Regions from separate parts of the Homo sapiens genome. Here regions 1, 3, 4, 5, 6 and 7 are each linked to region 2. The links are contacts of gene promoters, found by promoter capture Hi-C in blood cells and fetal thymus (Javierre and others, 2016). All regions are on one chromosome and are shown on one strand. The core of a region is centred on a gene start or on the middle of the fragment in contact, and the rest is flanking DNA. Distances in the headings are between cores, read along the strand shown.

Evidence for each region. Contacts are between HindIII fragments. The CHiCAGO score rates a contact against its expected background, and 5 or more counts as called.
Region 1: a fragment that was not itself captured here is called in contact with the fragment with the promoter of ADI1 in region 2 in 2 of 17 cell types (fetal thymus and monocytes); the score reaches 6.3 in fetal thymus.
Region 3: a fragment that was not itself captured here is called in contact with the fragment with the promoter of ADI1 in region 2 in 1 of 17 cell types (M2 macrophages); the score reaches 8.1 in M2 macrophages.
Region 4: the fragment with the promoter of CMPK2 here is called in contact with the fragment with the promoter of ADI1 in region 2 in 11 of 17 cell types (M0 macrophages, M2 macrophages, activated CD4 T cells and 8 more); the score reaches 15.0 in M0 macrophages.
Region 5: a fragment that was not itself captured here is called in contact with the fragment with the promoter of ADI1 in region 2 in 3 of 17 cell types (M0 macrophages, erythroblasts and M2 macrophages); the score reaches 14.4 in M0 macrophages.
Region 6: a fragment that was not itself captured here is called in contact with the fragment with the promoter of ADI1 in region 2 in 1 of 17 cell types (M2 macrophages); the score reaches 6.1 in M2 macrophages.
Region 7: a fragment that was not itself captured here is called in contact with the fragment with the promoter of ADI1 in region 2 in 2 of 17 cell types (M1 macrophages and M2 macrophages); the score reaches 9.1 in M1 macrophages.

The regions. Positions count from the first base shown.
Region 1 is chr2:258,328-262,738 of GRCh38, reverse strand. The region is part of intron 1 of SH3YL1 (SH3 and SYLF domain containing 1); the gene reads left to right. Among named protein-coding and RNA genes, the nearest start is that of SH3YL1, 3.5 kb to the left of the region's middle. The HindIII fragment of the contact is 3,075 bases long and covers 848-3,922 here.
Region 2 is chr2:3,517,160-3,521,472 of GRCh38, reverse strand. ADI1 (acireductone dioxygenase 1) reads left to right here and starts at 1,942. Exons shown (of 4, transcript NM_018269.4): 1 at 1,942-2,105. The coding sequence starts at 1,986. It overlaps LOC124907725 (a long non-coding RNA gene), which reads right to left and starts at 1,927. Exons shown (of 2, transcript XR_007086195.1): 1 at 1,517-1,927. RefSeq lists enhancers at 1,234-1,754, 1,755-2,276 and silencers at 1,696-1,825, 1,896-2,215, 2,296-2,355, 2,836-3,035. The HindIII fragment of the contact is 6,500 bases long and covers 1,361-4,313 here.
Region 3 is chr2:6,769,511-6,773,343 of GRCh38, reverse strand. It overlaps LOC105373404 (a long non-coding RNA gene), which reads left to right. Exons shown (of 4, transcript XR_922745.3): 4 at 1-521. LINC00487 (long intergenic non-protein coding RNA 487) reads left to right here and starts at 3,033. Exons shown (of 6, transcript NR_038369.1): 1 at 3,033-3,265. RefSeq lists an enhancer at 1-177. The HindIII fragment of the contact is 1,788 bases long and covers 445-2,232 here.
Region 4 is chr2:6,863,827-6,867,778 of GRCh38, reverse strand. CMPK2 (cytidine/uridine monophosphate kinase 2) reads left to right here and starts at 1,872. Exons shown (of 5, transcript NM_207315.4): 1 at 1,872-2,757. The coding sequence starts at 2,083. It also overlaps a transcript of RSAD2 not described here. RefSeq lists silencers at 1,612-1,881, 2,122-2,561 and an enhancer at 1,882-2,101. The HindIII fragment of the contact is 2,067 bases long and covers 1,345-3,411 here.
Region 5 is chr2:6,879,200-6,883,497 of GRCh38, reverse strand. It overlaps RSAD2 (radical S-adenosyl methionine domain containing 2), which reads right to left. Exons shown (of 6, transcript NM_080657.5): 2 at 1-127. Among named protein-coding and RNA genes, the nearest start is that of RSAD2, 3.6 kb to the right of the region's middle. The HindIII fragment of the contact is 1,359 bases long and covers 571-1,929 here.
Region 6 is chr2:6,998,293-7,002,543 of GRCh38, reverse strand. The region is part of intron 3 of RNF144A (ring finger protein 144A); the gene reads right to left. Among named protein-coding and RNA genes, the nearest start is that of GRASLND, 82 kb to the right of the region's middle. The HindIII fragment of the contact is 4,724 bases long and covers 458-4,251 here.
Region 7 is chr2:6,788,203-6,792,466 of GRCh38, reverse strand. LOC105373404 (a long non-coding RNA gene) reads left to right here. Exons shown (of 4, transcript XR_922745.3): 3 at 1,499-1,592. Among named protein-coding and RNA genes, the nearest start is that of LINC00487, 20 kb to the right of the region's middle. The HindIII fragment of the contact is 886 bases long and covers 898-1,783 here.

The sequences.
Region 1 (4,411 bases), core at 1,136-3,635, 3.3 Mb after region 2:
GGCATGTCAACACAAACATAGGAAGTTGAGGCAGTCAAAGGGAAATAACTGCTACCCTGACTCTGCTGAGAGCCTCACAAGTCCCTGTGCACGCCAGCTTGTTTGCCAGTGAGTGGCGTCATGATAAGACAAAATTCTCTGCTCTGAGACCTAAGCACATGAAGTTTTTAAAAAAATTTTCTCTGAGAAGATCCCATTTTTTACTCTAAAAGATCAGACCAGTGTGGCATGTGTGGAACTGCTCTGTACCAAGATCACACTCTTCAGTTGGAGAAGAGGAAGGGCAGGAATAAATAAAGGGCTTTCCTGTCTCCCGAGGGAGCAGAGAAAGCTTTCGCTGTCCTCTTCCTTCCCCAGCCACAGCCTGGGGTTGGGGGACTGGAAACAAGCTCAGGCTAGCACTTGATGTTCAGACGGTAGTCTGAAAGTTTGACTAGGGAGTTAATGATCTGACCAGAGAGACAGGTTTTTATTTTGAGAACTGACAAGCTTTGTGTCCTTAAAACAAAGGAAGTAGTTAAACCAAGGCCCCAGAAAGGTAAGAATTGACTTAAGAAACAAAGGCCATAGTTGTCAAGCAGTGGAGTTCAAAATGCAGTTTTGTTAATAAAAGTAGCTTAAAGCAACATTTGAAAGCCTCTCTAAAGATTAGATACATACACTTTCTTTTGGCTAAGATTTCTTTAGTTTATTCTAAATATACCTTTAGCAGCATTCAAGTTCCTTTGATCTTAGATGGAATTTTATCAGTTTAATGAGTTAACCTCCATTTCACATAAAGTATAAGGTTTAATAATTTGATTAATATGTAATCAGTAAGAACTTGGAAAACCAAATTTAGTAAGCTTGCTTTCCTGTAAGTATTCCTTTCATAATTAGAGTCCATTGAAGAAAATAATATAAGGGAAGCAAAAGTTTGGGAATCTGAACTCTGGTAAGGAAAGTGGTGGAGAGGGGCCCTTGGGTCTTCTTGCTTTCATTCCTGACCCTCCGTGTACAACTAGATTGGAAACCGTAGTCAGCTTTGTCACCTCAGGTGGCAATTTACTCCGAGTAGGATTCTCATGTCCCTGTTTGTCCCCAGTGACTCTAGCATTGAGTTTATAGAACTGCGATCAATACCTAAAATTATTTCCAGATCTTAAGCTGATTTATGCTTTTGAGGTTTCCAAAGTAAAAATTGTCTTTCCGGTATTTTATAAGACCTTCTAATTTAAAAAAAAAATGTGTTACTATGAAAATTTAAAACATTTTAACTTTTGTTTTAAAGAAAACTTTATTTGAAAGTTTCTTAGCTTGAGGTTTGGCAGCCACTCTTTTTTTAGAAAAAACTTAAATATTTATAGAGATTTTGCCTGATTCAAGGGACTTAAGACGTTTATGAGAGTGCAGATGCTAACCATGATGTGAGGTTTAAGAGGCTTCATTAGTAATGACCTGTGTCTTCATCAGTATGATAGAATGGGACATCAGCACTCTGATCAGGTCATGCTCTATATGCCTTATGGTACAGCAGAGGAAAAATGGGTGAGCCATCATTTGATGCTGAGGATGGGATTTGAGGCTTATGTCTAAATTTTTATTTGCATATTCTTTTTGTTCTGACAGAGAAATTCACTGCATGTAACTATGACCACGCATGATTTTATCAGAAGTTGATTAGAATCTGTAACATTTTCTGTAGTTCAGCTGACACACTGAAGATGTCCTCACTGTGACCAGCCTTGTCAACAGCTGGATCACAGTGACATAAGCTGTGTCTAGGATGAGTCTTGCGGTCTGCAGCCGTGTGAGGCTGCATCTGATTCCCAAGTCCAATGGCTCTCTTCCCGTGTTTACAGATCAGGCCATGACCTTTCCCTACAGCAGGATGTTTGCAAGATTAACTCTCAACTGAGGAATTTGCTTATTTGCTCTAATACTGCTTGGTTGAGAGAGTTCAAAGTAGAAAGTCTTCTGAGGGGATAAGATTCATGTATTATTTACAGTGCTTCAGTTGCATGTATCAGAAAATCTAGTCTAAATTGCTTTAACAGAAAAAGATGTTGCTGGTCCATTTGACGAAGAAGTCCAGAGCGGCTTGTGACTTCAGTCTGGCTTTGCAGAGCCCAGGTGCTCTCTCCACCTTCTGCCAGGTTCCCCTATGAAGGCTTTGCTCTCAGACTCTCCCCTTGTGGAGACAAAAATCCCACAGCAAGTGGAAACAGAAGTGCCTTGGAAAAAGTTATTCTGGCAGCTCCTATACAAGTCCCCCATCAGATGCTGGTATTGGACCAGCTTTGGTTATAAAGCCCTGCTGTGGCACCAAAAGGAATGTCGTCCTGATACAGCAGCCTCGGGTCACCCAATCCACTCCAGATACTATGGCTGCAGCATCAATGTAAGCAGACAAGTTGTGCTGCCTCTGAAATAAAGTAGATGAAATATTCAGCAGCAGAAAGAACAAGTTTCCACTCCAGTGAACTAATTCAAATGTATCCAGCATCTAGATATATGTATAAATGTAATTAAAACATATTGAGCATCTAGAGCATCTCTCCCAAGATAATTACCACCTGATAGTAATGGCTATAAAAGCTAAAAGTGGAATCAGTCTACATGTTTCGCAATAGGAATCAATTGAAGCATACATCAAAATGCAGACAGTAGTATTGGTGAGTATTAATGTTATAGATGCTTTTTATCCTTCATATTTTCATATCTGTACTTTTTCCTGTATTTTACAATGTATTTGTACGTTGTACAAATAATTGCTGATCATGTAAAAATATAGAAATATAGAAATTTTGTTGCCATACTTGGGTCTTTTCCACTATGAAATTGAAAAAAAATTCTATAATTCCTGGTTCTTTTATAATTTGATATTTGACACTCTAAATCTTCAATGAATTTGGAGTTTATCTTTCTGTAACACAAAGCTGTGAATGAATTTTTGTTTTTCTCCCCAAATGAACATTATCTAGTATGCAATACATCATTTCAACATAGAATTGAGGTGTCATTTTTATTATATACTAAATTTGTAAATATATTTGGGTTAATTTCTGAATTTTCTTCTTTGTGAATTGATTTTTCTCCTATATTTGCATCTGCTATTATGTATTAATTATTGAGGCTTTGTAATGTGTCACAGGTTCTGTCAAGGCTGGGCTGTCATTGTTCTCCTATTACATATTTTTTCCTAGCTCTTCTTGCTTGTTTATTTTCCCATTTGAACTTCAAAATTACTGTGTTTTATTAAAAGACCCTTGTAAGATAGAAGACAGATTTGATTTCATTAAGAAAAAACAGAAAAAAAAGCAAATTCAAAAGACAAGTAACAGAGAGTCAATGTTTTTAACTCATATTCCAAAAAAATATTAATTTTTAATGTATAAATTAATAAGAAACAGAGAGAAACCCCCTGTAAATAACAAGGTGCATGAGAAACCTTTGATAGAGAGAGTGAAATGTGGTCAGCATTGCTCATCATAAAAGAACAAATGGAAAATGCACTGAGAGCTACTGGCCAGGGCAGCGAAATGGCTCCTGCTACTCACACATGGTAAACAGCTAGGAAACTGGACAGCTGTGTGTAGAGCACTTTTTGCACATGGTGGACATGTCTGAGATCCACAAGATAAGGGGAACAGGAGGTGAACTCCATTAGTGACCGTTTTCTGCCTGGAGCACTTCCTAAACTGCAGGACAAGGAGGGGGCACCCAGAGCCCAGGCTCCTGCTTAAAAGAAGAGGCAGAAATTGAGTCTGAAGAGGCTGAGGTAACTGGAATTTGCAGAGCATGTTACTAGCAATGAGGGACGGCTGAGAGAAAGAGCTCCAGAAATCTGCAGAGGGATCCCCCTGAGCCTTCTGCTGAATATTAAGTGCTAGCTGTGTAGGGTGAAATTTGCAAAGCAGGCAAGAACAACTGCCATGAAGCTTTGAGGTGAACTATTCACAGTGCTTGCATCAGGCTGGGGACAGCCATTCGAAACAGCCACAATGGAGACAGCTTATTAAACAACCAGGGCACCCAGGAGAGAGCCCAGAAGGGACACACCTTGATGGATAAAATAGTTCTAAAGGCTACTCTAGACACACAAACAGAACACAACAACAAGCCAACAAGTGATCAAGCTGATCTACAAGTAACTCACTGCCTGCTAACACAAGTGTTAACACTTTTAAGGGAAGCAATGAAATCTAGGCACTCAACATGGTAATATCTACAATCCTGTTTTACTAGAAAGGAGTAAAAACAGGAAAACATAACCCATAGCTGGAAGAAGAATCAGTCAAAAACAGATCGAGAAATGGCAGATTATACAATTTAAAACACCTATTTTACACAAAAAGAATAAAATACCTAAGAATACAGCTAACCAAGGAGGTGAAAGATCTCTACAACAAGAATTACAAAGCACTGCTGA
Region 2 (4,313 bases), core at 693-3,192:
AGCTGGGACTAGCGGTGCAAACCACCACGGCCAGCTAATTTTTGTACTTTTAGTAGAGACGGGGTTTCACCATGTTGCCTCGGCTGGTCAAGTGATCTACCCTCTTTGGGCTCCCGAAGTGCTGGAATTACAGGCGTGAGCCACAGTGCCTGGCATCTGGCTCCTATTTTTAAAAGGTCACTCTGGGTGCTGTGCATAGAATGGATTGCACTGGGGCAAAAATGGAAGCGGTGTGAGGAGGGGGAATTTCAGTAGTCAATTCCATCAGGCAAGAAAAGACTGCAGAAAGAGTTGGGCTGGAGAGAAGTGAATGGATTTGCGGTGTGTTTCGAAGGTCAAAGCAACATGACTTGCTGATAGATTGGATTGGATCTTGAGGGTGAGGAAAAGCAAAACTGAGAGTACACCTAGATTTTTTTATTAAGCCACTGGGCAGTCAGTGCTGCCGTTCACTGAGACGGGAAAGGTTAGGGAGAAGCATGTTTGGGGGTGTGTGTGGGGAATCAGTTGTTTTGGCCATGTTAGGTTTGACACACTGATTAGCCATGTATGTGACAACACCAACTGGATACTCAAGCCTGAGGTTCTGGAATGAGGTCCAGGTTGGAGATGTGGCTGCAGGAGCCGGCAGCACAGCATGGAAAGTCGCCTGGAGTGAGTGGATAGGAACAGGACGAGGAGAGTCTGGAACGCTCCACTAACCAGTGGTTAGAGGAGCAGGAGCTAGGAGGGGCCTGGGAAGGAGCAGCCAAGATGCCCTCATGAAGGAAAATGAGAAAATGTTTCAAGAAGGGCGTGGGCAACTGTGACGAATGTTGCTGGTAAGAACAGAAGTGCCATGATTGGATCTGGCAATATGGCAGTCATTAGCAGTTCCCCAGTGGTGAGAAGCGAAGCCTTATTGCAGTGGCTTAAGGAGAAAATGCGAGGTGCGAGATTGCCATTAGATTCTTGCATGAAGGTTTGTCATGAGTGCTGCAGAAAAATGGGCAATGGCGTCTAAGGTGTGTTCTTGAAGGATGAGTAGTAACTGGTCAAGTGAAGAGGTGGAGAGGTAGGCTCTCTAAGGAGGATGTATTTGCAAAGCCATTAGAGCAAGGGAACAGAAATGAAATAAGTGTGTATTTTTCTTGCAATATTTCTGGAAGTTCAAGAGTCAATTGCATGCATTGGGGTTGTGCTCTTACAGCAGTCTCATTTAAATCCTGTCTGCTTTATCGTTATTTGTTAAAGAGACTGAGGGAATGGCTGAGATAATCTGATCTTTTTCAACTCGTTGGTTTGAAAAGACATCTAGGATGGTCAAGCGGCTGGACTTTATTAGCTACATTGAAAAATTCAGAATGGGATAGGGGAAGCTTGTTTTTATTCTAAGACTAGCACATTACAGTGTATGGGGAAGGGAGAAACGATGAAAAGAGGAAACAAGAGGAAGTTTAAAAAGTACAGGGTAGCACTGCAGAATGCCGACACTGCAAAAGTCTGGCGAGCGGGGAGGTGGAGGACAATGTCTCACCTGGGATCCGAGCTGTGAAGTCTCAACTGTGCCCATATGGACTGCATGAGCTTAACAAAATCCTTATTCTTTTTTTTTTTTTTTTGCATTTGCTTTCCATACTCTAAACACGTTTAACGTCGTTTGCCTCACAAGATTGCTCTGAAGGTGCAGGGAGACCGCGGCAGCACACACAAGGCACGTGCGATGCCTACGGTGAGCTTCACCTGCCCGGCGCGTCTGGCGAACGGCTGGCCCCGGGCCGCGGGCCTCAGGCAGGTCCGAGGGTGCCCAGGACAGGGTCGGGGCTTGAATGCCTTTGCTTCCGAAAACAGCGGAGCCGTGGGGCCTCCCCCGCGCCGGCCCTGCCTCCAACCAGCCGCCCAATCCCGGCTCCCATGCGCGTCCACGCCTCCCTATAAGATAAAGCGCGGCCGACGGGCTCCGAGCGCGGCCCCTGGGTTCGAACACGGCACCCGCACTGCGCGTCATGGTGCAGGCCTGGTATATGGACGACGCCCCGGGCGACCCGCGGCAACCCCACCGCCCCGACCCCGGCCGCCCAGTGGGCCTGGAGCAGCTGCGGCGGCTCGGGGTGCTCTACTGGAAGGTACGCGAGCCCAAGCCTCGCAGAGCGTGCGGGCGACGCCGACCCCCAAACGCCGCGCACAGCCCAGCCTCCTCCAGGTGCCGGGCAGCGGCCTGGGAGCCGCGGCATGCTGCGCATGCTCAGCAGCGGGATTTGGGGGTTCGTGGCGGCTCCCGGTGCCTGGGGTGGGCTGCGCATGCTCAGCAGTGGGGCTGGGTGGTCAGGGCCTCCTGCGCGGCGCCTGGGTGTGCTGCGCATGCTCAGCAGCGGCGTTGAGGGGTCGGCGGTCAGCCCCCAGCGCCTGTGGTGTGCTGCGCATGCTCAGCAGCGAAGTTTACGGGGTTGGCGGTCGGCTTCCGGCGCCTGGGGTGGGCTGCGCATGCTCAGCAGCGGGGCTGGTGGGGGTCGGCGGTCCGTTTCTGTTGCCTGGGGTGTGCTGCGCATGCTCAGCAGCAGAGTTGGCGAGTCAGGGGCCTCGCAGCCGGGACTCGCTGCGCACGCGCAGCTCCGGGATTGGCAGCGACCTGAAGGGTCGGCCGGCAGGGCTGCAAGATTCGCCGGAGGCGGGCTGCGAGTTCGTGGGCTCGTTGGGCTTGTCCGACGCCCTGCCTGCCTGGCTAACCTCGGTCAAAGGCCCAGGGGTTTCTTCTATCGGAGGAAGGGGGACTCCGCTTGAAAGTGTCCTGGGGGAGGGACCGGGCGCCAGCAGATCGAGGCGGGGTCCTGCCGCGGTCTGTCGGGGATCCCCGGGGGGTAGCGCTCGGTGGTGGGGTGGGGGCGTCTCCAGTGGGCGGTGGAGCTGGCTTGGGTCCCGGCTGGGCCCGGTGTCAGCCCTGCCTCTGTAACGCTAGCTTTGCAAGGCGGGGCTAGGCTTTGCACCGGTGTCCCGTTGCTTGCACAGCACCAGTCCAGATCCGCTCACCTTGTTTATTTGCAAATGGTTTTGCAGTAACAAAGGTTTACTGCAAAAGAGAGGGCCAGGGTAGGCCTCAGGGATAGGCTGAGGGGTGACTGGATCTAATCTTCATTCATGTGATTTAAATGAAATACACAGGGTTACCTGGACACCACACTTTTTCCCTTGGGAAAGGATTATAGAATATTCCAGCATAATCTATTTGGATATCATCTTGTTCTATCCTAAATAACAGAAGAGGGAAGTGACAATTGGCATACCAGTGCGAAACAGGGCATGCATGTTAATGTTTACATAGTATTTGTCTTTTCCTAGGATAAGGTTTAACACTTACCTTGCTGGAGGGTACTTCTTCAAAGCAATCAAGTGGTTTATAGTTTTCCATTAATGAGAGGAGAATAAATTTTGACTTATTATGTTTATCCACAATCCAAACAACCAGAGGGTTCAAATTAATACACTTGGGGAGTTTCATTGTGCATTTGACGGTTTTAAGAACAAGAACAAGAGTGAGATTACAGGTCAGCTTCTTAATGTATTCAAAGAATAAAATAAGATTTATTTTAATAGACATCTTTTAGATTATTACATGGGCTCAAACATAGTTTTTCCTACCGTCTAGTTCTGCTCTGAGTCAGGGCTATCAAAATTAAATCATGTTTACTCTGTGGTTTTAATGTCCTGTGTGTTTTTATATTCTTCCTTTCTTTTTTTTTTTTGCTCTTTTTGCCCAGGCTGGAGTGCAGTGGCATGATCTCGGCTCACCGCAACCTCATCTTCCCGAGTTCAAGCCATTCTCATGTGTCAGCCTCCCGAGTAGCTGGGATTACAAGGTGCACAGCACCATGCCGGGCTAATTTTGTATTTTTAGTAGAGACAGGGTTTCTCCATGTTGGTCAGGCTGATCTTGAACTGCTGACCTCAGGTGATCCACCCACTTCGGCCTCCCAAAGTGCTGGCATTATAGACACGAACCACCGCACCCGGCCTATATGCTTTCTTAATATCCATTCTGGATCAGTGCTGTTGGAAGACAAAATTACAACAAATTTAGTTAAAGATCTAATTAGCTTTTATTCTTGATTTGTGAATAGGGCAACCTCCGTTCTACAAAATAGAATAAGAGCTCGATAGGGTAATAGCACAACAGTGGGTTTTGTAGGGCGGCAACAAAGAAACAGAACAATAGGTAGAAAAGCTGATTGGTTAACGTCAAGTTACATTAGGTTACTTTTTTCCTAAGGGTTAAAGCAGAAGCGACTTCCTTATTATTCTGACTCAGGAAGACTGGAATCTTCTGATCGCAGGAAAAG
Region 3 (3,833 bases), core at 89-2,588, 3.3 Mb before region 2:
GAGGACTGACCACTGGGTGGCACTGTTGCTCCATGGAGAGCTGCCAACGGCGTCCCCGGGGACCCGGCCACGTTGAGCACAAAAGGTGGGATTTCTAAGGTGTGCTCGGTGATGAGTTTCTTAATGAATTTACCTCTTCTATGGAATCTCCCTCTGCAGCGTCTCCTGCCGCCCGGGGCCGGTTTCTGACTGTGGACTCTGGGTTGAGCCCATGGGGTCAGTGCGCGTGGAGCTTGCACTGCCCAGACCCACAGCCCCAGGAGCAGCCACCTCCCGTGTCACCCGGGCGGCGTCCTGATGACATCACTTAGAAGATTAAAAATAAATTGAAGCACATGTCACCTTAAAGGGGGCACAAAAAGGACATCTGCATGATTTGATGCATCCATGAGAAAGGGCTGCTGGCTTTTGATTTAAACTGTTGGGAAAGAGGATTTTAAAGCTTGTAAGCTGCTAGTATTTCCAAAAGAATGACTATTTTTTATTTTTTATTATTTAAATTAAAAAAGCACTTCCCTGTTCCCCTGTCCCTACACTCTAATTCTTCTTGGCTTTGATTTGGGCGATATTGTAGGCAGCTTTCTGCTCCACGGTGAAGGTCTGCCCGAGGAAGGACGGGGACAATCTTGGGGAAGATGGGGGAGGCGGGGACCGATTTTCCAGCCCAGAGCTGGGGTCTGCAGAACCAGGAGCCCGGGCCAGGCTGGCCTATCAGCCATGACCATCTGTGCACCTTAGCCACCTACTCACAGCACAGCCTCCATCTGCAGATCCACCTAGGACTCATCCATTCCTGACTGGTCTTTTGTTTCAAAACCCGGCAGCCCCGGCCCCTCCCAAGCCTGAAGTCACCACACACGCCCATCCTCCCATCAGTCACTTCCTGGCTAATGGGGACTGAGGCCCAATCATTCTCGTTTTTCATGCCTTGTCAGAGGCCTGAACACAGAGACAGAGGAAGGGAGAGAGAGAGAGAGGGCAGCTCTGGAGGAGGCGCAGAGTATGGGCAGATGTCCTCATGAAAAATTTACAAGGAATAATCAGAGGCCCCTTCTCTCCCCTCTGGCCAAAGTCCCCCTAGGCTTGTTGCCCGGGCCGCTGTGAGAATATTGGAAAAGTCCCCCTCGTTTTGAAGGCAATCTGGTTCTGGGGGGTTAATGCCCAGCGTTGATGCACTTGGCTGTCCTCTTGAGACCGGGTTGCAAATGCAGTTCAGGCAAAATTGATGAAGTATCAGTTAATCTGAGGCTGACAGTTTAGAGAGGTCACAGCTGCGAGGGGCTGCCAGGGTCTCCCAGAGACAGGACTAAGAAGAGTTAAAGCCAGGGAGGGCCCGGTGAAAGGAAGCATTCATCTTCTTCGCCTGGGCATTTCTCAAACATTGCGCCTGCCAGGATCCCTGAGCCTCTCTCCAGGTGAGCAGTGTGAGTGGGGAGGCTTTCACTCTGGTGCGCACAGTCATGCCTCCTCCCAGACAAATCCAAACCCACATGCCTGGTGTTCCTGGCTCCTTGGGAAGGAAGAAGGAGGGAGTTGCTGCTCCTAATTGAAACAGGCAGTTAGGTCTCCTATGCAAATCCCCTTGCTGTAATTGGCACTGTGAGTGCCGCCTGCTCATTCCTCCGTTTCCCGCTAGGGGAAGGTCATCTTGGTAAGAGATGTGTCCACACGGGGTGGGCTCTGAGCTGCTCAGAAGGAACTCTGCAGAAGTGGGGAACCATTGACTCACACCCTTCCCATAGGTGGTTTCCTTCAGGCTCCAGCAATTTTTTACAACAAGGTGGTACAATGAGAAAAATACCGCTCTGCTGTTAGACCACATATTTCAATCCTTGTACTTCCTAAGAGTTCTGATAGTCCAAGAGGCTGGGGGCTATGGCCATGTTTCTCACTCGAATTGCCCTGGTACTGAAATGCATCACGTGTAGGGGAGACTCAGTGTTTGTGAGCACACACTGAGTGACTATAACTGAGTGATTTCAGAGAGACAGAAGAAGGCATGCAAATGCACTTGTCTTGAGTTGTTTTCTAGGGGACATGCTCAGGGCTCTGGGACCTACCTAGTCATCTCGCTGCCTGGAGAGGCGGCTGCTTGGCCATGTTATCTCCATGCCTTCTAAATTAGGATGCGGCTTTAGGTTCACATTCATAAATAATTGGGTTTTATGGGATAGGAAGCAGCAAGGGCTTTGCGTTGATCGGCCCTGGGTTGGGTCCTGGCCTCCCTAAGCTTTGAGAATGATTTTATCATCACCATTGCCTGCTTATGGGAAAATAGGGCGGCAGTTAGTCGTGGAGTCCCTGTGACAAAGTGGCAGGTGGATGGCTGCGCCGGGGGTCTAACCTGCGCTGTCACACTCCGTTCCCTCTTCCTTTCAGTGACAAGAATGCAAGTAATAGTGCTGAGAATCGTGTGCTCAGCTGTGCTGGGCTGAGCATTTTATGTGCATGAACTCATCCCTCCCTGCGAACTTGTGAGAAAGGTATTATTATTATCATTATTAATATTATTATTACCGTATTCTCTCTGCTTACAGACAGAGAGATTGAGGTGTGGCAAGTAGGTAGTAAAATCCACCTTCTTCTTCTGTGAGGTTCCTCCTGTTCCCAGGGGTGTGGGGACGGTGAGTGGTGGATGGGTGAGGTCTTACAATGCAAAACTGCTGATTTCTACATCCGAAAAAAATCATGAATATGAACGATTATAGCCAGATTGAAACTATCATTATTTTCGGTAAGAAAAAGTGCGTCTATTCACAGAAAGTCAGGTACTTTTCCCCAAAATCACATGGGAAAAGTGTGCAAATACAGAACAGCCCTTCCAGGAAGGAACTATTTTCTCCGAAACAGGAAATTGTTGTACATTCAGACACACCATAAATACACGTCTAGTTTGTACATGGCAATTCCAGGGTCTGAGGCTCTTCCTTCCTGGCCCTAGAATGGCGTCTCTTGCGCTGTGGGCTTCCTGTTGAGGCAGGGGCTGAGGAGGTGGGAAGCAGAGGCTGAGATTTTCCTTCACCACGGTCACAGAAGATGCGCTGTTCCAGGGGCCTGGGTGGGAGCAGCCCAGGAGCCTGCGTCTCCCCTCCTCGGCCCTGGGAGGCGGCTGGACTGTGCCACACGGGACGGGTGCTGAGGGACCGCTGGGTGCCCACCTCCCTGACCCCTCCTGCAGGGGTGCCTGCCAAGCAGCCTGGGCACTGCCGTCTGGAAGATGCGCCGTGCCGGTTCTACACGGTGTTCCCTTGCTCCAGGCAGAAAGGTCAGTCCAGGCTTCTCACTCCATCGTGGCCAGAAGCCAAGTCTCATGGCATGAGATTCAACCAAAGAGAATCTCCTGGAGCTTCTTTACCTCATCAGACTTATATCCCACACAACACACACACACCCCCATCCATAAATGTGTGTATGTATATACCACACACGTACACACACATATGCCACACACATGCACACCACACACACAGAATGAATACACATACACCACACACATAAACACACACGTGTGTATGTATATATCACACACTTAAACACACGCATGCCACACACGTGCACACCACACACACAAAATGAATACACAGACACCACACACACAAACACAGAGATATCACACACATACATACACACACCATGCAACACACAAACATGCATACACATATTCCACACACAGAAACACACAGACACCACACATATACACACAGACATGCATACACACAACACACATATAAACACACAAATGCCACACACCAACACATGCCACACACAAACATGCACACACATACACCACACACATAAACACACAATACCACACACATACACAGACACTAACA
Region 4 (3,952 bases), core at 623-3,122, 3.3 Mb before region 2:
GCTTCATTTAGCAAACTGTGTGTCAGGTTTTCTTTCAGTTGGAGGCTCAGAGAAAAGTTAGGAAGAAGCTGGTCTTCCTACTTACCCTCAAGGTGCTCAGTGGTGGGAAATAGACTGGCACGTGACTGTGGAGTGTCAAGGTCCGAGGATACAAATAGCCTTGGTGGGGGACACAGGAGAGGCTACTAACCCAGATATGTGGGGGGTTATAGGCTATATCATGTCCCCCAAAATTCATGCTCAGGCCTAGCCCCCAGTGCCTCACAGTATGACTGTATTTCAAAATAAGGCTTTCAATAGGTGATTACATTAAAATGAGAACATTATGATGGGCCCTAACCCAATCTGACTGGTGTCCTTCCCAGAAGAGGAAATTTGGAACTTCAAGGAGACGCCAAGGATGCAAGCACAAAGGAAAGGTCCCGTGAGAACACAGAGAGAAGGAGGCGGTCTGCACGCTAGAAAGAGAGGCCTCAGAAAAAGCAAACCCTGCTGGCAACTTGATCTCCAGCTTCTCTGGCCACCTGAACTTTGAGAAAACAAATTTTCTATTGTTTAGGCGGCCCAGTCCGTGGTATTTTGTTATGGCAGCCAGGATAGACTAATACATCCAGAGAGGTGGATGGCATAGGGAAAAGGTCAAGCAGGCTTGAGGATGCAGTACTGTCTTAGAGAAGAAAAGGGAGTAACTAGAAGACTCTTACTTCCATATACTACATACACGTGAAACCACCGGTACATGCTAAATGTCCAAAAGTGAAATTCCTGAGAAAGAATAAAAACTATTCTATTCTCAAAGAGCTAAAAAATTTTAAACTCCTAATTCTTCTTTCTTCTTAGCCTATTAACCCACACTCCAACCACCTATCTATATTTCACGTTTGTTAAGACTTTTTTTTTCAGAATTAAATATAATCCCAAGTTTAAGTCCAATACTATTAAGACATAAAAAAAAAACTGCTTTCAGCTCATCTAATGTTTTCAATCTTCGTCTCAATTCTATTTTTTTGAGAGAGTTTCCCTGGAGAATATTATCTTTTTGTTTGTTTTTGGTTTGCTTGACATCATTTTTAAAAGGCATCAGTTAATGAGTAAACACAGAATAAAATATCCAAATAACTGCGCAAACACTGTTACACTGTTAGGCAGTTACACTGTTAGGCAGCAACAGTGCTGATGCTGGACTGTGGCAGGCAGAGGGTGCTATCCTGACACACTTCACCTTAGTGCAGGAAACTTCAATTTGGTGGAAGAAAGGCGATTTCGAGGTGCCAATCTGGGCGACACTTCCCAGTTGGAGAGTCAGCAAAAGGGAGAGGGCAATTCCAAGAAGAGGGAAAAGCTTGTGCACAGGTGAGTGTGTGCAAAGGTGAGTGTGTGCACAGGTGAGTGAGTGCACAGGTGAGATAAGATACAGGAGAGGGAAGAGCCAGAACTGCGCCCTGTTCCCGCAGGAAAGCAGCTCTGCAGGATTAGAGGGGCGGGGACGCGTGGTCAGAGCTAGGAGTTGAGGTCGGGGAGGGAGCCCATGGTCTGCAGGGCCTGGTCAGTCATCCAAGGGCAGTAGTGCGCCTGCAAGTGGGCGTTGAAGAGCCCGTTACACCGGGAAGGGACTTCTCTGTCCCTCGCGCGTGCACCCCCGCCCCCCTCCATGCACCCGGCATAAGCCGCAGAGGAGGAACTCAAACCAGGGTCGGGGCCGCCAGCCACCCGCAGAACGCACACGGAGCTACCTTGGGGCCGACGGCGCGGGGCCTCATTCGGTGTCAGCCCCGGGAGCCGGCGCCTGGGGACCGCGCAGGCCCGCGGAGCCGCGCACCTGGGGCCCCGGGGCCAAGCGTCTGCTCCCGAGCGCCGGCCGTTTATCGCGCACATCTCGCGGCGAGGAGGAGAGGCCGGAAGGGCGCCCCAGCCCCAGGGCTCCTGCCCCGCCTGGGCCTCCGGCTTTCGTTTCCCCGCAACGCTTCGCTTTCGTTTCCCGCTGGCGCCTGGCTCCCTCCGGGTTTCGTTTCCCGCCGGCGCCTGGCTCCCGCCAGGTTTCGTTTCCGAGGCGGGGCCGAGGGCGGCGTCGCTGAGGCGCCCATGGCCTTCGCCCGCCGGCTCCTGCGCGGGCCACTGTCGGGGCCGCTGCTCGGGCGGCGCGGGGTCTGCGCTGGGGCCATGGCTCCGCCGCGCCGCTTCGTCCTGGAGCTTCCCGACTGCACCCTGGCTCACTTCGCCCTAGGCGCCGACGCCCCCGGCGACGCAGACGCCCCCGACCCCCGCCTGGCGGCGCTGCTGGGGCCCCCGGAGCGCAGCTACTCGCTGTGCGTGCCCGTGACCCCGGACGCCGGCTGCGGGGCCCGGGTCCGGGCGGCGCGGCTGCACCAGCGCCTGCTGCACCAGCTGCGCCGCGGCCCCTTCCAGCGGTGCCAGCTGCTCAGGCTGCTCTGCTACTGCCCGGGCGGCCAGGCCGGCGGCGCACAGCAAGGCTTCCTGCTGCGCGACCCCCTGGATGACCCTGACACCCGGCAAGCGCTGCTCGAGCTGCTGGGCGCCTGTCAGGAGGCACCACGCCCGCACTTGGGCGAGTTCGAGGCCGACCCGCGCGGCCAGCTGTGGCAGCGCCTCTGGGAGGTGCAAGACGGCAGGCGGCTGCAGGTGGGCTGCGCACAGGTCGTGCCCGTCCCGGAGCCCCCGCTGCACCCGGTGGTGCCAGACTTGCCCAGTTCCGTGGTCTTCCCGGACCGGGAAGCCGCCCGGGCCGTTTTGGAGGAGGTAAGAGTTCTGTCCGCTTCCAGCTCCCAGCGTGGCATCTGAACCCTTCAGACCAGAGAACTGGACCAAGAGGCTGGTCTGTAGAGCCGGTTCTTGCCTGGGTGGTTTGTTTATTTCCGTTCACAAATCAGGTAGGGAAGGTGTCCTGTATGCCAGGCAACTCTTTTAAGATTCTTGTTTGCAAGGATCTTCCAACCTGACGTGGAACATAGACCTACACCAAGCCACGCGATGCTTGCTGTAAAAGCATCCCAACAGCAGTACAGAGGGAGTAAAGGGGCTGCCGGGAGTGAGGGAAAATAATGTCAGCTGGGAAGTAATTTTATTTGCTGATGATCACCATTCAAGGATCTTGGGGTGAAAAAGAAAATGCATGAGTTTAGGGGGTTTAAGAAATTTAGACTTAAATAGTGTTTACCTACCGACTGGCCATGAACCTTGTGCAGGTTACTCAACTACTCTAAGTTTTGCCCTTTGACATGTACAATTCCCATCTTGCGATGTTGTCCTGATTAAGGAAACATCTGACTCACAGCAGGTACCCACAGAAAGAGACTGAAAATTCTTTCTGATCGCAGGCTAGGCAGATGTCCTCCTGTGACACAGATGAGCCCTGAGGATGCCCCCATGGATCTTGGGAATATTTTCCAAGCTTACGGGACAGCGTTGTGGAGCAGTTAAGAGCGCAAGGTCAACCACGTGTATTTAAATTTAAACTCTGGCATTTATTAGCTGTGTCACTTTGAGCAAGTTTCTTCAACTCTCTGCCTCAGTTTCCTTAATTCATATGGTGGGAATAATAATAGCACCCCCCCACCCCAGTTCACAGAGATTGGCAACTGAATACTTGTAAAGCACTTAGAAGATTGCCATGCTCAGAGCAAGCACATAAGTGTCTGAGCCTCGCTCTGAGATGCTGTGAGCGTGCAGTGAGATAATGCACATTGAGGAACTGGGAATTCCCAGGGGGACGCTGCTCTGCCAGCTTCATGATTGCAGTGCTTGGCTGTTTATCTCAGCCCCCTGAATGGCTAGGAGAGGACATGCTGCAGATGAAGACTGCTCTCTCCAGCCCACTGTGCAGCTGATTTCCCATTCTTGTGAGACAGTGTTCCCAGCGGGCCTGTAGTTCCATGGTTGCGGTGTCACAGGACATTGTGATGATGTGCCTTGCCTGGCCTTTCTCAAAGCTGCT
Region 5 (4,298 bases), core at 1-2,500, 3.4 Mb before region 2:
CCATTGCTCACGATGCTCACGCTGGGCAGCCGCAACTCTACTTTGCAGAACCTCACCAACTTGCCCAGGTATTCTCCCCGGTCTTGAAGAAATGGCTCTCCACCTGAAAAGTTGATCTTCTCCATACCTGTGCAAGGTGATACATGAATTTTACCACTTCACAAATATACATTATTATTTTAATAGCAAAAGTAGTATTTTCTCAATGTAAAAAAAAGAAATAAAACTTTCTCATTAATTTCCCCTCCCCTAACCCTAGTTCCCAACACCAATCCCACCCAATGGGAATAGCATATGTTTAATTCGGGATCTAAACAGGGATGCAGGGAACTGGTTACACAGATGAATAGACTTGCTCAGACACCAAAGGGTACAATGAGGCAGCACCAGGATTTGCAAAGCATAAAGCCACATGCCTGCCATGTGGCGTGACTGTCCACGGGCCAGCTGCCAGCCTGAGAATGACACTCCTCCTGACTCTGCGTTTCCCATCCCCACTCCTTGTCCTGGATTCCGCATCGCCCACCCTCTTGGGCTACTCCCTTATTTTGGAGAATCCCTTTACAAGCTTCCTGAAAAAAACGTAAAGCAGGAATTAAAGTGATGACTTGTATGCCTCAAAATGCATTGGTGATCAATTGTTTGTCCAGGTATCACATTCTAGGTGAAGTCATTTTCACTCAGTTTTAAATGCTGTTGTTCAGAGGCCTGATAACACCCTCGTTTGTACTCCTTTGTAAGTGCATGGCTTTTTCTCTCTCCAGAACCTTTCTTCCTAATGTTTTGGAATTTCAAGACCGGGTGTCCTAGGAATCTCTCTCTATTCACTGTCTGGCCACCTGGAAGGCCTCAATCTCAAATCATAGCTCTTTATGTTATAAAGAAAAATCTTCTTTTACTATTTGCTTATTCACCCCTTGTCTCAATTTTTACTTTTTCATCTTTCTGGAACTTCTATTACTGGAACATTGGAGTTTCTAAATTTAACCACTATTTTCTTATCATCATCTTCCTTCCTACGTCTATCCTGATTTTTTGGTCTCATTTTGGTTAAGACTTTAACTTTTCGTCTTTCTATTAAGATTTTAATTTTAGAAACCCCATTTTTCATTCCCCAGATGCTTCCATATTCTGACTATTCCTTTCCAGGCATTCTATTCTTGTTTCATGTATGCAATTCTTTCTCTTATCTCTCTGCAATTACTAGTTATAGATTTTTTTGGACGTTTTCTTCTTCCTACATACTCTCTGTGTATTTGTTTTGGTGTCTGCCTCTTCTTTTGATGTTTTTATTTGTTCATTCAAATTTCAGTATGGCACAAAATAGCAGAATGGAATTTCTGTGATGAAGGGAGGGGCTGGTCCAAAAGAGGGTTTCACTACAGAGAGACAGAGAGGTAAACTGGTTTATTCATAGGAAAACCTCCAATTGCTAATATCCTTGGTCTTTACTCTGGGGTCATTTTGTTTTCTCAGAGAAGAAAACATGTCTCTTGCATGTGTTACATACCTGCCTGCCTGCATTTTAGGAGGATGGGGTCTATGCGTTACACACCCACCTGCCTGCATTTTAGGAGGATGGGGTCTATGCATTACACAACCACCTGCCTGCATTTTAGGAGGATGGGGTCTATGCATTACACACCTGCCTGCCTGCGTTCTAGGAGGATGGGCTTGTGCGTTATACACCCACCTGCCTGCATTCTAGAAGGATGGATCTATGCGTTACACACTTGCCTGCCTGCATTCTAGGAAGATGGACCTTTGCAACATACACCTGCCAGTCTGCATTCTAGAAGGATGGGCCTGTGCGTCATACACCTGCCTGCCTGCATTCTAGGAGAATGAACCCGTGCAAACCTCTTTCTTGTCTCTATTAATCTGTATCTGGCCTCACCATACATCACCCAAGGTAATATGGTTAAAGCTTTCAACCCTTAAATAACCCATGGGGAAGGAATTATTATCTGGTTTTTAGTGGAAGAATTGAAGCCAAGAAAGGTTAAACACTTGCTGAAGATCATAAGGCTAGAGAAAAGTAGAGCTAGGGTACATGCCTAGACTCCAAAGCCTAGAGTCTTTATAAGTAGAGAAGCCTCCAGGCTGGTGTGCCTGGAACAGTTTTGGTTTATGGTAGATGAAACAGTATCTGTGAGTGAGTTTTAGTGCCCCCTTTCACTCTCAGATGTCTCTATGATTGGACAGTGAGGCATTATATCACCTCCCTATTTATAATCCATCATGCTGGGAGGCAGTTTGAGTGACACTCATTATAACCCGAAAACAAAACAAAACATAATTACCTAAGAAGTGTGGTGATGTGATATAGTGGCAGATAAACTGGAGAAAGTAAGACAGGGTCCTGGCCAGTGGCACAAAACTGCTAACAATTTTGAGGAGTATATTTAGAAGGGATGGAAGAATAACAAAAGGGAAGGAATAGAATTTAGAGGCATAATTAATATCTTAGACAAGGAGTAATTTATTTACAATAGTGTTAACATACATGAGTGATCATATTACAGCCCAGATCTGATGCTCATTATTTTTAATTCTATTCAGTCTTTCTGAATAGAATTTCAAAACAGTTTAAAAGCCAGGAAAGTAAATAATATATTTTAGGAGCATCTTTAGCCAGAATAGTAAATTTTAATTTTAAATATAATATATAAAAATATATATTAAAATTTAAATTTCAATGTGAATTTAAACCTTTAATTACCACTGACAGATCAAGAACACCATCATCTCAGACAAACACCACCACTTTAAGTTCCAGCTCCCTTTCTAGCCTCATGCATTTCAAGGAAATCACTTATCTTCTAACCACAAGCAGCCAGAAAGAGCAGACAGTAAAACACAGACAAGACAGCTTGAGCACAGAGGGAGGTTGAGGGGAAGTCTTTTAGGTAACTGCCAAACTTCACTGTCATACAATGGGTCCCAGTAAAACAGTGGGCCTAAATAAGCACATTAGTTTCTCTTTAGTGTTCTAAGATAGGGAAGCTAAAAGCAGATTCAGGGTGGGTATGCCTGCAGCTGCAGGAAGATGTACGGGAACAGACACACAACTCTCCCTCCCAGATAAGCACAACAAAGAGAAACAGAAGCAGTCCAAGTCTCTAATAAACCCTCCCACGCCAAATCCTTAAAACTCTTAGTCTGTAAGAGAGTGGGCTCTGACTTAACTCAGCCAGAAGCCCCTCTCAGGTTTTTTTTCTCTAAAATAAACCTGTCCTTGACTGTGGAGCCACCTTTTGTGTTTCTTTCCTCTTTCTTTAATTCTTACAACCAAAAAAATAGTTTTCCTCCATTATCTAGAAATCTCTCTTACAGGAAAATACAACCTACACTATCATGTAAGCATTTCAATTAACTTTTGTTTTACTTACTTAAACTGAGAGGTTATTATATAAAAGTATTAATTATAACTATTAATAATAATTTATCTTTTATGACAAAAATACATGAACATTCACTTGTTTGTGCCTTGTACCAACTTTTGAGATTGGTTTATCAGTTATCATTATTATCTAAAGATAATTTTAAAGATCATGGAACTGATACTCAGAAAAGCTAAATGTCTTGACAAATCTAGTAAATGTTAGAGCAGAAACTCAAACCCTGGCTTTCTGAATGAAAGTCGTAATTTCCCTCGACATATCTCCTTATTCACTCACTCATGCATTCATTCATTTATCTAAAACATTTCTTAAGCCTCTATTACTTTCTAGACATCCTGTCAGGCATGAAGACACACAGGAGGGTAAAATTCAACCTTGGAATGCAATTTCTTTGAGGAACCAGACATTAAAAAAAAAAACTGAACAAAATAGTACATTTTAAAAAGCTGCAAGACATATTTGTACCAACTGCTATAAGCTCATAAGTGAAAAGTAAAGGGCATAATTATGGCTGCAGAGGATCAAGGAGAATTCAAAGGAACTTTGAAAGTTCACCAACAAGATTTGAGGACAGACATTCTAGGAAGAGACAACAATATGACCATCATTTTAACAATTTTGATGTTTGGAGAAAATGAGTGTGACAGGCTGTGTCTACAGCAGAGGGGACCCAAGCCATCAGGGTAGCAGAGGCTGAGAGCAACATTGAGCTTGCCAGGGGCCTTGACAACGATGCTCATAAGAAGGAGAGTTAGGAGTTAAATCACCAAAAGTACATTTTAAAAAAAGATCAGGAGTTTTCAATGGGGCAAGCAGAGACAGTGAGTTGAATTACAGTAATCCTGGTGAGAAATGATAGGAATTTGAGTTAAGCCACACTGGGAATGGGAAGTC
Region 6 (4,251 bases), core at 1,570-4,069, 3.5 Mb before region 2:
ACACCCTCTTTCCTTCGCTGGTCCCACCATGGTGGCTCTATCCGTTCATGCTTTCTCAAGGAAATAGTTCAAATGCCCCTGAAGCCTTCCTGAGTACTTCTGGCAGAATTCACTGTTCTCTCTGTGCTGTAACCCACTATCCACACTGCAAATCTAGCCCTTCAAGCCCCAAATGATCGCAGCCCACACCTGCATCTAATGCTGAGCAAGGGATCAGAGGGGGCAGGGATTATGTCTTACCTACGTACCCAGGGCATCTGGCACAAGCCAGGTGTTCAAAAATGTTTGAAAAATTAAATAAATATCCGCTATGTGCACAAAAAAGCACCCACTATGTGCAGTACACATAATGCAAAGGGACATAAAGACGTGCAAAGGAAGACCATGCCCCAAATCAGCTTAATTTCTAGGTGAGGAAATGCCACTTATTTCCTAATATGTTACACAATCAGAAGCTTAGGGTTTACACGTAGCTTTTCTGCAGCATACCAGGTCAATGATCTTGCAAATATATAGGAAAAAAAGGAAATAATATCGTATTACTTATCACCAGGCATGCTACTGCTCAATACTTTATACCCATTGCCCCATTTAATTTGTTCATGAGGTTGATCATATTTTAGAGATGAATAAACTAAGGCTCAGAGAAGTTAGGATGCTTGCTAAAAATCACACAGTTAGCAGGTAGCAGAGGCAGAACAGAGATCTGAACCTATATCCCACAGCAATGTTCAGCCACGCAACTCAACCAACCATCTAGTTCTGACTTTTTATTTAAACCACTAAGAGTCACTTTTATTATAGTTATGCATTGCACGGGAAAGATTCTGTCTATTAAATGTTACGTTTTTGTTTTGTTTTGTTTCTGAGACAGGGTCTTGCTCTGCTGCCCAGGCTGGAGTGCAGTGGTGTAATCATGGCTCACTGCGGCCTCGACCTCCTGGGCTCAAGCAGTCTTCCTGCTTCAGCTTCCTGAGTAGCTGGGGCCACAGGTGTCTGTCACCACGCCCAGCTAATTTTTTTATTTTTTGTAGAGACAAGGTCTCACTATGTTGCCCAGGATTGTCTCAAACTCCTGAGCTCAAACAGTCCTCCCACCTCGGCCTCCCAAAATGCTGGGATTACAGGCAGGAGACACTGTGCCTGGGCAAAAAGTTACACTTTTATTTTTTTATTTATTTTAATTTTATTTTATTTTATTTATTGAGATGGAGTTTCACTTTTGTTTGTTTATTTATTTATTGAGATGGAGTTTCACTTTTGTTGCCCAGGCTGGAGTGCAATGGCGCGATCTCAGCTCACTGCAACCTCCACCTCCCGGGTTCAAGTGATTCTCCTGCCTCAGCCTCCTGAGTAGCTGGGATTACAGGCACACGCCACCACGCCCAGATACTTTTTGTATTTTTAGTAGAGACGGGGTTTCAACATGTTGGCCAGGCTGGTCTCGAACTCCTGACCTCAGGTGATCCACCCGCCTCAGCCTCCCAAAGTGCTAGGATTACAGACATGAGCCACTGTGCCTGGCCAAATGTTACATTTTTAAGTTACAACTTTCTACGGTTATATATCAAAATCCTGTCATCTGGGTTCTAATGGCAAAATTCCTAATTGCCAATAAATAGCTGGTATAAAAATAGATTTAATTCTAACTCAAAGCAAAAAAAAATTATATATATATATATAAACGCAATATATATATAAAATATATGTGTATATGTATGTTTTATTTGGCTTATTCAATCTTGTCATCATTAAAAAATAACTTTCATTAGACTGTTTTTTTTAAGAACTAATAGAAATGTAGACATTTCTACCTTCCCAGATAACTAGGGACCTGTGTCTTGGGATGGGACCACAGCACCTCCCTTTGAGCTTCACATGTTCCCACCTTTGGGATAAGAGTATCATCTCTACTTCTAGCAGCTGTCTGAATGGAAACAACTCTGCCAGCAGTAACACCATATTAACATTCTCAGTGTAACTGTCAAATGCCACAAGTATAAGACAGACCTAAATAGCTCTAATATGTCCCATTTTAAGTTAAAACATCTTCTACATTTTAGATTTCAGCCCATAAGGAATTTCCCAGGTCACTCTACACACAGGTTGCATCTCTGATTGACAAAACGAACACGGGATTGGCCCTCATGGTGGGTAACGGCAGCCTGATTTCAAAATACGTGTCCACAATCCTTTCTCTCTGGCCAGTGCTCCAGCACAGAACTTGTTGGTTAGACTTACATGTCACTATTTTGCACACAAATGTTCAGCTTTACATTTGACCTTCTAAAGTTAGACTTCACACTAATCCAAATGGAACAATTTAAGATATCTGGTAGCTCTCATCATCCCCAAGCTCCCAAGGCCTAGCACAGCACCTGGAACATGTGCACAGGCTCTTGTGACCTCCAGAGAATCACGAAGAATCCACCAGGCACCCTGCAAGCAAGGAAAGCCCCGGAGAACCTGCTTCAGGGGAGTGCCATATTAGCAATTGCTAGGCCAGTCCCTTTCACACTGAAATACATTGAAGGAACACAGGTAAGTGACAGTATGTCTCTGGCTGTGGATGTCTTGGTACATTCCTCCTGCTCTTGGGCACCTGGGATGCCTTGGTAGTGGGGGATGTGGACAAGGATGCGGTGTCCGTCATTAGCAAACCCACTGAACCACACAAATCATTTCTGAGTCCATCTCTTGAGATAAGTGTTCTTCAGAAGACATTTAGGGAGAGCTGCCCAAACTCTGTTTTTATTCCTGCAGTTCTAAACCCAAACTTAGAAGCAAAATGAGAAAGAACTAGGCCTGATGACTGCCTACCACATGACTTCACACATGTTCTTCCACTTGAACTTTGAGGTAAACTATTTTTATCTCCATTATACAGATGGGGTAAATGAGGCCTGCTCAGGGCAGAAATAGAGCTGGCATTTCAGCTCCAGGACACCTGACTCCAAATGCCATGCTTTTCCCTCTAGCCCCGGACTCCTTGAGATAAAGTTACTTCAGCACTCAACTGTAATTTCATAATAACTGTTTTTTTAAGAGTGCCTCCTTTCAGTCTTAGACAATTTTCTTCCTTCCCATGTCTGCACCCCCCAAAAAAGGACAGTTGCAACTCCTCTGGCCACAGACTCAGGGCTCCTCCCCATGGCCTGCCCCCAGCTTGGGGCGACCTGCAGCCCACACAGAGGGGAAGGCGCCACCAAAGCGACCAGGGCACCCCGACACCTCCTCCCTTCTGAATCTTCAACACACAAGTGCTTCCTTCTCTTCACGCTACAGTGAGCTACGGACAGAGGTGGAACTGTTTTCAACATTTTAAATTTTGGTAAATAGTTGTGAAAAAAAATCACCACAGTGTCACTGTTTTTTTGGTGTTTCCAGCAGCCTCTTTCGGAGAACACAGTGCTAGCTTCTTCCTTCACATCCACTGACTTTGGTTAGGCTTTTGGTCTCAATTTGAGTGGCTTATTTGTTTTTACTACAATTCTCTAGAAATAGAAAACTAAGACAACAATAACAAAAATGAAGGCCTCAGCAAAAAAGCCAGGGAGAATGAACTATTTCAAGGGTAAGAACACAAGCTATGGCCTCTGACAGCAGGCAGGCGACTGCAGAGACTGCAAATGCCCCCCGCCCCCACCCCCCACAAGGCATTTTTGGCAGAGGGGGAGCCATTCGATCAGTTGGGAAGATGTCCTTTCAAGTAAGAGGAGGTGATTTTGCATAAGGCTAGTTATTGAATCCATCTTGACGGGTTCTACCATCCTAACTCATCTAGAAATGACAATAAGCCCCATTCACGGTGTTAACAGGATGGAGATCAATCTCCCTCCTATCCTTCTCCATCTCAGAACAATGTCAAAAGCAACTTCCTTTCCTCTAGGTTGGAGCTGTCTTCCTGGTGCTTTAATGAGGCACATTTCTTGGATGGCAACTACAGTATTGAGATCAATACACTTCATTTCAATCTGTGAGATTTTACTGATTAGCTCTTCTGGGTCCTGCACTAAACTAGGTGCTAGGTGGATACAGAATGGGCCAGAAATCCTTCTGCCCTTAAGAAAGGCTGAATCTAGCATAAACAAGAAACAGAAGACACAGATGTAAATGTTTGTAAAGCTCCCTCTCCTTATCTATAAAACAAAGATAAAATATTTGCTGTGCCTACATACCAAGGACATCATGAGGTGCAAATGAAATACAGTCTGAAAGCTATGCAAGAAAGATGAATGCATCAGTGTACAG
Region 7 (4,264 bases), core at 91-2,590, 3.3 Mb before region 2:
CTGTGACTCAGAATTGAAGCCTATGGTAATTTTATCTCATCTTTCATTTTGGCCTCGGCCCTAAAAGTTCTGAAGAATTGATTTCAGACTGTGGAAAATCAAAGAACAAAATCTCATTTTATTCTGGAAACCATAGCAGGACCATCCACACCACTGCCCTGGCTCCTGACCTCATGCAACACTCCTGGCCTACATGCTTGGCCTGGCACTGCCGGCTGGTCCTTCTCACCACACCATGCTGTGTTGGTGACCTCAGCTGAGGCATTCCCTTAGCAGTGACTCAATGTGTTTCTTCAGTTTGTGCATTTATCCAGCAAGGAGGACATAGCTCTGTGGATAACCTATGGATCAATGACTCCATGGACAATGGTGGTTATGGACTAAAGTGTCACCAATGCCACCAAATGAGAAGCACTGGGATGATGTAGCAGAAGGAGCTTCCAGGGCAGCTGTGACAAATCGCAGAGGCAGTTGTCCTCATCTCACCCTGCACTTTATTTGCAGAATCTCCAGGATAGCTGACTGGCTCACTTTGCTTCCAGTAATTGCCTTCCTTCAGCCATCAACTTAAACTTGATCATCTGACGGCTCCCTCTCCATGGGCAGCGGGTCTCCCTAGGCTGCCACCTGTGGGCCAGTGTGGGTCAAGTCCTCTCTGACTGTATCTCTTTGCTCCTGCCAAGCTGTGCTGCAGACACACCCTCTGTCCCATGATTTTGGCATCCCGGTTCTCTCTGGTCCCTTTCTAGGGCCTCCCTTCCACCCTCAGGTGCTGTCATCATAGCTGGAGAAGGCATCTGGAGCACTCTTCAGGATGCACACTCTCTTGTTTGGTGAACCCCAGTATCTTTCTCTTTCTTCAAGAAGTCGCCAGAGTCTTCCATCCTCCTGGAAGCTTGCCTTAAGCTCTCCACCCACTTTTTTTCTTCTTCAGTTTTTTTTTTCTCTTCGCTCTCTCTTTCTTTCTTTCCTTCCTTTCTTTCTTTCCTTCCTTCACCTCCCCTCTCTTTCTCTTCCCTTCCCTTCGCTTATCTCCCTTTCTTTCTTTTTTCTTTCTTTCTTTCTTGCTTGCTTTCTTGCTTTTTTTTTTTTTCTTCCTCAGAGCCTCACTGTGTTGCCCAGGGTGGAGTGCAGTGGCACAATCTCAGCTCACTGCAACATCCGCCTCCCAGGTTCAAGTGATTCTCCTGCCTCAGCCTCCTGAGTAGCCAGGACTACATGTGCCCGCCACCACAACCAGCTAACTTTTGTATTTTTAGTAGAGACGGGGTTTCACCATGTTGGCCAGGATGGTTTCTTTCTTTCTTTTTTGACAGGGTCTCTTTCTTTTTTGACAGGATCTCTCTCTGTCACCCAGGCTGGAGTGCAGTGGTGTGACCTCAAGTCACTGCAGCCTCTGCCTCCCAGGCTCAAGTGATTCTCGTGCCTCAGCCTCCCAAGTAGCTGGGACTATAGGAACGCACCACCACACCTGGCTAATTTCTATATTTTTTTGTAGAAATGGAGGTCTCATCATGTTTCCCCGGCTGGTCTTAAACTTCTAGACTCAAGCATTCCTCCTGCTTCAGCATCCCAAAGTGCTGGGATTACAGGTATGAGCCACCCTGCCCGGCTTCTCAACCCACTTAACAGTAGCAACTGCCACCATTGCCATTTGCTGTCCTCATAATAATACTGTGGCATAGGTATTATTATTCCCATTTTGTGGGTAAGAAAATAGAGGTTCAAAAAGACTATGATTTGCCTAAATTAATAATTCGGTAATAATTGAAAATAACAAGCTTTAAGTGCTTATGTGCCATATAGTGGGTTAAGTTTTTCATATAGATCGTCTCATTTAATTCTTTAAAAACCCCATGTCAAACCCCATTTGACAGATGAAGAAGTGAGTCTAAGAGAGATATAATTAATGACAGAGCGGGATTTGAACCTTATTGACTCTATTTTAACTGCCAGCCTTGCTCCATATTTCATTTTCTGAAATATTATCCCAAATAGTTCAGTAACTGGCAGTTATTATTATTGTCACTTTTAAAAAAGTGTTAAAATTTTGGGGAAAAACTCCACTTTATTCCCAGTCTGGCCCCTAAGGCTTGTTCTTTTATTTTTAATTGGCAAACAATAACCCCTCTGCTTTCTTGAAAGGAAACTAGATATTGTAGGAGGCAGCATCAGTTTGCCTGCCTTTCCCAGAGATAAGACCACTGAAATGCATACTTTGTGCAGGTGAATACAGATTAAAAGCTGACTAGATGATAGTAAAAATGGAAATAAATAAAATGACAATTTGTCTCATTTCATATTTGTCTAATTACTCCAGTTGAGATATAAATGTGTCACAAAAATATAGCTTTTACTCACTCATATTTTGCATCTTAATTTCCCAGTTCAGCTTTTTCTGCCCCTAAGTATGTAACTCTTATATACTCCAGTGCTTTAGTAATAGCCTTATCCAAGCTATTGACATGAAAATAAGGAGTAATGTATACTCAATTGTACATAATAGGGTTGTAATTCCGTGGAGAGATGCCTGAGTGCTTTCCTAATGCCATGAGAAATTCAACGTGGAATTACAGGCTTGAGTTAATGTGCAAGAGTATCGGGTTGGTTCGTGTGCAGCTAGATGAGCTGACTTTTCTGCAGGATGCTACTACCAATGCAGCCCCTCTAGAGAGCAATGCTGAAGGGGAAGTAGAGGCTACAGCGAGGCCATCCACTCTTCATGATGCATTAGGATGTCCTGTTCCTGACATAGTCTGGCTGGCTTCATTACGCTCATCCTGCTACAAAGAATAAGACTCCAGGGATCTTCCTGGTGTAAAATGCATTCAATGGAGATTGACATTTCCAAATCATAACAACACAGTGCTCTATTCAATATGAGATATTTGTCAAGATTTTTATTAGTGAGTAGAAATTATGAGCTAGGCATTCATACTCCAGCAGAACATCTTGCTCTAATTATTAAGGGCTCTCATTTTTGGCCACAGTTGTATCCAACCAATACTAAATGACTTCATGTGAATCACCGTGCTAAGCTGTGGTGGTCATCTAGGTGTCCCCTGTACAAGTGTCTCAAAGGGAGCCCCACTGTGAATGTTTTGAGGGTACGTGAACCTGGGTATGTAGATCTGTGGGGGCTGGAGCAGTGTTGTTGGGTGGTAGAGCCAGAGCTGGTGTCAAGAGGAGCCAACATGCGAGCTAGAGCTGCATGAAAGGTTTGGTGGAGAGCTAGGAACGGATATGCAAGAAAAAGGATCAAGGATAGAAGATGAGAGGGTTGGAATAAGGATGGACTATGTATTAGTCCATTCTCACACTGTTACAGAGAACTGCCCAAGACTGGGTAATTTATAAAGAAAAGAAGTTTAATTACTCACAGTTCTGCATAGCTGGGGAGGCCTCAGGAAACTTACAATCATGGGAAAAGGGGAAGAGACACCTCTTACGTGGTGGCAGGTGAGAGAGAGAGTGTGTGAGCGAGAAGGGGAAACTGCCTTATAAAGTCATCTGGTCTCGTGAGAATTCACTATCACAAGAAAAGCATGGGGGAAACTGCTCCCATAATTCAATCACCTCCCTTCCTCAACACATGGGGATTGCAATTTCAGATGAGGTTTGGGTGAGGACACAGAGCCAAACCATGTCAGTCTGACATGCCTTAACTAGTCTGGGATTATGATTCATGACCAAGGATATGGAGGAACCCTGCAGCTTCCCTTAGGAGTACTTGATGTAAAGGAGTCCCATGAGGGCCAGGTACAATGGGAAGAGTGATGATCCACAAGAGTAATAATTTATATTTTATAATTTACAAAGTATTTTCACCTACATGATTTCCTGCAATTCTTACAAAACGCCATAAATTATAGGTATAGCACCTTAGGTCAAATAAGCTAGACCAATGGTTCTTAACATGGGATCCAAAAATATCTTGAAACTCCAAGCAGCCTTCAAGGTGGTGTTGTGTAGGCATTAGGAGCCTGGAGTTTGAGGCTGGGCCATGCGCATCCTGGCTCAGTTGTGCTAGCTGTGTGATCTTGGGCAAGTTACTTAACCTCCCTGGCTCAGGATCCCCATCTTTAAAACTAGAATCTAAATAATACTTATTATGATAATTCCTCCTAGTGTTGTTTAGATAATGTAGGGCCAAGGGGAAACTTCCGGTTTGCCCTATAAAGGTTCATTGAACATCAACTTTAAAAAGACAGATTCATAGGAGAAAAGCATACAAAACTTAATTTTCATTGCATAGCATGGAGAA